Regions from separate parts of the Homo sapiens genome. Here region 1 is linked to region 2. Evidence: promoter capture Hi-C in human tissues and cell types (Jung and others, 2019). All regions are on one chromosome and are shown on one strand. Each heading gives the region's core, a stretch centred on a gene start or on the middle of the fragment in contact. The rest is flanking DNA. Distances are from core to core; before and after follow the strand shown. Region 1 has its middle 35 kb from the start of CITED2. Region 2 holds the start of ECT2L (epithelial cell transforming 2 like).

Region 1 (3,288 bases), core at 140-2,639, 540 kb before region 2:
ATGTGAAGAAAACGACACTAAGGCACATCATAATTAAATTTTCCTAAACAAGTGATAGAACATTGTAAAGCAGAGAAAAACATCACAATATATTTAGGGAAACAAAGATAAGAACTATAGCAGATCTCGTATAAGAAAAAATGCAAGTGAGAAGACAGTGACACACAACATCTTTAATGTACTGACAAAAAAATTATTAAACTGTCAAACTAGAATTTTATACCAAGCAAAATATGTTTCAAGAACTAAGGTGAAATAAAGACTCTTTCACATATACAAAAGCTGAAAATATTTATCAGCAACAGACTTGCTCTATAAGAAATGTCAGGCTGGGCGTAGTGGCTCATGCCCGTAATCCCAGTGCTTTGGGAGGCCAAGGTGGGTGGATCACAAGGTCAGGCAATCAAGACTATCCTGGCCAACATAGTGAAACCCCATCTCTACTAAAAACACAAAAATTAGCTGGGCTTGGTGGTGCGCACCTGTAATCCCAGCTACTCAGGAGGCTTAGGCAGGAGAATCGCTTGAACACGGGAGTCGGAGATTGCAGTTAGCTGAGATCACGCCACTGCACTCCAGCCTGGCAACAGAGTGAGACTCCATCTCACCACAAAAAAAAAAAAAAAAAAAAAAAAAAAAAAAAAAAAGAAATATCAAAGGAAGTTCTTCAACCAAAGACATGAGGAAAAGGGAAGAAAAAGAAGAGATGGGTCAAACAGAAAACAAATGGCAAGATGACAGACTTGAATCTATCAATTATCACATTAAATATAACTTTGTCAAAACATCTCAATTAAAAGTCAGAGATTGTCAAACAGAAAAGAAACACAGGGCCGGGTGCGGCAGCTCACGCCTGTAATCCCAGCACTTTGGGAGGTCCAGGCTGGCGGATCACCTGAGGTCAGGAGTTCGAGGCCGGCCTGACCAAACCCCGTCTCTACTGAAAATACAAAATTAGCTGGGCATGGTGGCACATGCCTGTAATCCCAGCTACTTGGGAGGCTGAGGCAGGAGAATTACTTGAACCCAGGAGGTGGAGGTTGTGGTGAGCTGAGATCGCGCCATTGCACTCCAGCCTGGACAACAAGAGTGAAACTTCGTCTCAAAAAAAAAAAGAAAAGAAAAGAAAAGAAAAAAACAGAAGACCAAACTATATGCTGCATATAAGAAATGTACTCTCTCTCCATATATATTTTCTTTCTTCTTGATCAGTCTAGCCAGAGATTGACCAATTTCACTGATTTTCTCAAAGTAACTGTTTTTGGTGTTATTCATTTACACACACACACACACACACACACACACACACACACACACGTTAGATGTTAAAAGACAGAAAAAGATAATCTAGCTAACCTTAACTATAAGAAAGTTGTAGTGACTATATTACTACCAGACATGATAGATTTCACAGCCAACAATATTACATGGGATTTTTCAAGTTTATTTCATAATGATAAAAGGTCATAAACAAATCTAAACATTTATGCACCTAATAATAAAATACATTGAGCAAAAAACTGATAGATCTACAGGAGAGGCAGACAAATTATGGTTTGAGATTTAAATATTCCTCTCTTAATAGAAATGATCTGCTGATTACATTTAAACTGAGCGACTCTGCATTTTCTGGATTCTGGATGGTTGCCTTTCATGAGCCCAATCGAAGAAAGAAAATCCTTGGACCAGATGCTTCACAGCTGAAGCCCGTAGGACCGCGGAAGAATACCTTGAAGATATTGTTTGCATCAAAATCACCCAAATTTATGTCTTCCTTATCCAGGTCCTGCCCACTGTGATAATGAATCGTTTTCTTGGAATCAAAGAGGATGATAAAGACCTCGCCACTTCCTTGATCTTCTCCTCCTCCTTTTGAACCCCAGCGCTGGCTCCATCATGACGATGTGGATGGTACTTCAAGGCCTGTTTCCAATAAGCTTTCTTGATCTTGTCCTCAGAGGCATTCTTGTCACTTCCAGAACCTTGTAGTAATTATCCCTCTTACTCTTCTTCAGTTCCAGCTGTGCATTTTTTAGGAGCTGTTTGTATTCTTTTGTTTTCTCCATCTGATATACTTTTTTCATAGCCTCGCACTGTTTCTTCATACTGTTCTGTGTCCAAGAAACACTGAGCTCTTCTCAAGTAGGCTTTTATGTAAGTGTCATGAGCTTCACTGCATTTGTGCAGCTGTCTATTGCATCATCTAGTTTCCCAAGCTCGGAATTAACCATATCCCGGTTACAGTAGAGTTTAGCAATTGCTTTTATGTTGTCGGGGTCTACCCCGGGGGTTCTGCGTACAGTTCATCAGCTAGTTTGTAATTTCCTTCCCTAAACGCTTTATTCCAGTCTTCTTTCTTTGCGTTAAGTGCTCTGGCATTTCTGCACGCAAGGCAGGCCTTCTCATGGTCAGGAACCACTCTGAGAGCCTGTACAAAAAACTGAACAACTGCCTACTCAGTACAATCTTCATAATAAAGGCAAGGTCCGCGTACATACAGAGCATCCACATTGGTGGAATCCGTTCATAAAATGTCACTGGCCACAGACTGTGCTTCTGGATAACGACCCAGCATTGCTAAACATTCTGCTTTGAGGGATATTGAAGTGATGGCAGACAGGGGCAAATTCTAGGGCATAGTCCATGCAGAAAACAACCTTCTGAAAAGCCCACTTCTCAAAACTTGTTTCTATGACTTTCTCCTATTCCTTGACTGCATTAGCATTTGTGAACTCCTGTTGTGAGTGAGCATTGTTATGATCCAGTTCTAGGGCTCTCTGAAAACTGCAATGTGCTGCCATGGCATTCCCTGGAGAGAGGTGGCACTTGCCCTCTCGTAGATGTCCCCAGAAGAAACCATCATCCAATTTCACTGTGAAAGTATCTCCATGGGCTTCGCAGAACCTTCCAAGTATCATCAATGTAGCTGCTCTATTACTATGATAGCTAGCATTTTTAGGGCACATATCTGTGGCTTTTGTTTAATAGTTATAAGCTTCGTTGTAATCTTCCTTGGCATAGTGTGCATTTCCTTGTTGCTTCAAAGACTGTGCTTCAGTATTTTAAATTACAAACTGGCAAAGCCACCCTCCTTTTATTGAGGCGATCCTGCCTTTTTGTTCTTCTCCATCACTGTCCTGGCAAGCCGTCTTTGCTTCCTCTTCATGGAGCAGCCCTGGCTTGGTTGCCGCACCACATTGCACGATGGGGCAACTGACAGTTTCTTAAAAAGGAAATTATATCCCTGCCATATGACGCAGCAATTTCACTCCTAGATATTTACTTAAA
Region 2 (3,458 bases), core at 781-3,280:
GGAAGTTCCACACCCTTGCCCACATACCTTTCTCTGGGCCTCTCTTCTATCTGGCTATTCATCTGTCCTTTGTAATATCCTTTATAATAAATGGGCAAACATAAGTAAAGTGTTTCCTTGAATTCCGTGAGTCACTCTAGCAAATTAATCAAACCGGAGGAGGGGCTTGTGGGAATCCAGATTTGTAACTGGTTGGTTAATCATAAACAACATATAGTCACAACCTGGGACTTGTGATTGGCATTTGAAGTGGGGGGCAGTCTTTTGGGACTGAGCCCTGAACGTATGGGATCTGACACTAACTCCAGGTACACAGTGTCAGAACTGGGTTAAATTATAGGACGTAGAGTTGGTGGCCACTGGAGAATTGGTTGTCGGTGGGAAGAAATTCCCATACATTTTGGTGACAAGAGGTGAAGGGCTGTACTGAGTGTGTGAGAGTAAAGAGAAAAAAGTTTTTTGTTTTTTTTTTCCTCTCAGAACAACCAAAGCCAGATTAAAAGATGAAATGGCTGAACAATTGCCAGCCCATATAGAGAGCTAAATCCTCACTGGGATCACACAGAAGAGCAATGATGTCAATTAACTGTGTTTCCACAGGTTATCTGTTATACAGCTGGAGAAATGCAAGTTAGTCTGGTCCTTCTCCACTACAGTAGACAGAGTGGCTTAGAAATTAAAACACTGCTCCTCGGCAGAGGTATGTACCTACATGCGCGTACTTCTGCAATTCACACATGCAAATTGTGCAATGATTCCTTTATTTATCAAAAATTTACTTCCTTAAATATGCCTCCAAAAAGGTATCTGGTTCTAAAGATCGCACAAAAGAACGGGAGTAGAAGAAAAGTAAGTGTGATTGGTGAAAAAACAGAAATGAAAGACAATTCCAGTTGAGTTAAATGTCCCACATTTAGGGCATGTAAAACTACATGCCAGTATATAATTTTTATTAAGTACACACTAAGCAATGGATAATGAAAATAATGGCGTGTTTTGAGGAAACCTGGGCTATTGATCTTACAGGCGGTGATAGAAAATACCATACTTGTGCTGGTATTTTCAAATGGTGGATGTGCTCACTGATTTATAAGTTTAAAGCTATAAAACTAAAGCTGTAACAAACAAGATGCAACTGTTGCTATAAAACTTCCAAGTCCTTAACCCTTCTTCCTCCCACTGAAATAAGTGTTTGTAGAGCATGATTTTTGAGGTTTCTGTGGAGCACAAATGTCAGTTCCTGCAGAACAGACTTTAACAGGCTTGGATACAATTGCATGGGTTGCAGTGAACTTTAACACCAATGATGTCAGGATATTGTGTTCTGATACATATGCAAAGTTTATTAATAAGCACAGCATCGGTATTTTTAAATCGATATTTTAAAGTACCACTGTTTTATTTGTCCTGCTCATCAAATCTTAGCATATTAACTCTTAGAGCTATCCTTATAACCAAGACCTATATTCACAGTAGATTTTTTGTATTCCTCCCTCATTCCCCCAACCCAGCCCCCACCCTACTCCCTACATTTTTGGACCCCATAGGAGGAAAGAGGGAGAGAACTGTCAGAAGGAAGAAGGCAGTTGGTGTGAACCTATGAAAATCAGCGTTTTCCAAAGTGTTCAAGAACTTTACTTCGATCCCAAATCAGTTCTCTGGAGGAGGTAAGAGTTTACTTGGCATGGCCCGATGCAAACCCTACCCTACGCGTGGATTTTGTTTCTCCCCAGAGCCTCTTCAGAATCTTGGTTAATTCCAGAGCTGCTAAGGGACTCCAGGGTCGCGGAGGGAGGGCCCTGCGCCCCTCAGCGCTGCTTAGGGTCTTCCTGGGCGACTGCACTGGGAAACTAAGCCGGCCCAGGCGATGTGCCCCGGGCGGCCCCAAGAAAAAGACTAGCGGCTCAGAAGCCACGGGCTTTACCTCTAGGAAGTGGCTATGAGGCCCGGTACAGTGGCGGCTGTCTCCTCTTGGAACCGCGCAGTGAAAATCGAGTGCGCCAACTCGGGCCGCAGCTCCGGAGAGGGGTGGGGCAGGGACAGGGTCATCTCCATAGGGATCCAACAACACGGAGCCACCACCCCGCCCCACAGGCCCGCAGCCCCTCCCGCCGCCGCGCCCGGACGGCCAACCTGCATCTCCCCAGCTGCAGTGAGCAAAGCCGCCCGCGCCGTGCGAGCCACCGCCCTTCTCTTGAGGCCAGCTAGGCTCGGGTCCCGGCTCCTTTCCCTGCCTCCAGGGAGCTTGCGGTGGGAGAAAGCTTCCGTGGGGTCCCGTGGGTCGCGGCACGTCTCGGAAGCCCTGCGAGGTGCCCAGCAGAGGTGCCAGACCCAAGGCCGTGGGACCCCAAGAAGAGACTTGGACACTGAAGCCAACGTTTGCTTGATCTCAAACAAAGCCAGCGATGTTAATTAAGGCTGTGTGATGAGGAAAGTGGAGTTTCTTATTTTTTGTCACATTCATCTTCAGCAGATCCTCAGAAAATGTTAATATTTACTGCAGAATTACCAATTTCAGCATTATACAGGAGGTACAAAAACAAAACCAAAAAACCCTTCTTCATTAGTTTCAGGTCAAAATGTCTTTTAACTATTTATTGTGAAGCCTGTTTTTTTCTTTTGTATGTAATAGTTATGGCCATGAAAAGATGCTCACAGTACATTACTTACAAAAAGCAGCTTAGAAAACCAGCAGAATGGTACGATCTATTTTTTTTGCAACGTGTGTAAGAAATCTGGGAGTATGTACACAAATAGGTTAAATGGTTTGCTCTGGTAGTTTTAAAAATCATCTGTAATTCAATTTTTCCTACAACGAATAAGCAACATCTATGTAATAAACCATAAGTTTCATTCTAGTAAAGTTTCATATGAGAAATGTGATCTTGCTATGCTGCCTAGGCTGGAGTGCAGTGGCTATTCACAGGCCTGGTCATTGTGCACTATATTTTTATTTTTATTTCAAATATCTTTTTCTTTTTCATCTGTATGCCAGTAAAATCATCATTGTACACTATAGCCTAGAACTCCTGGGCTCAAGCAATCCTCCCGCCTCAGCCTCCAGAGTAGCTAAAAGTACTGGTGCCTGTCACCAAACCAGGCCTTAAATTTTATTCTAATCCAGGCACTGCATTTTTTCCTGTTTCCTTGAACATGTGTTTAAGGAGTGTGAAAGGATACAAATTAGATAAGCTAATATTTCGCTACCTGGGACCCATTTAGGGCCCTGTGACACAAAGGGCGAATGAACCAAGTGAATAAACAAGGTCAATCCACTGCTCTGTCACAACCCGCAGGAACCAGCTTTTTGCTTTACTCTATCTCAGGACCAATCCAAGAAAAACATGTCACATGACAAAGTGTCCTTTCGCCCTGTCAGACCCTAGAGTACGACTTTTTCCCCCTTAAATCCCTATTCTCACAACCCAAATGAAGTTTCCTCCATGATGCTGTAATTT

What was found. Contacts are between HindIII fragments. The study calls those that stand out against the background at their distance.
Region 1: a fragment that was not itself captured here is called in contact with the fragment with the promoter of ECT2L in region 2 in 1 of the 25 tissues and cell types used here (lymphoblastoid cells).

What each region holds. Positions count from the first base shown.
Region 1 is chr6:139,337,950-139,341,237 of GRCh38, reverse strand. It overlaps the pseudogene LOC100129844. Among named protein-coding and RNA genes, the nearest start is that of CITED2, 35 kb to the left of the region's middle. The HindIII fragment of the contact is 5,360 bases long and covers 1-3,288 here.
Region 2 is chr6:138,794,659-138,798,116 of GRCh38, reverse strand. ECT2L (epithelial cell transforming 2 like) reads right to left here and starts at 2,030. Exons shown (of 22, transcript NM_001077706.3): 1 at 1,925-2,030. The HindIII fragment of the contact is 5,811 bases long and covers 1-3,003 here.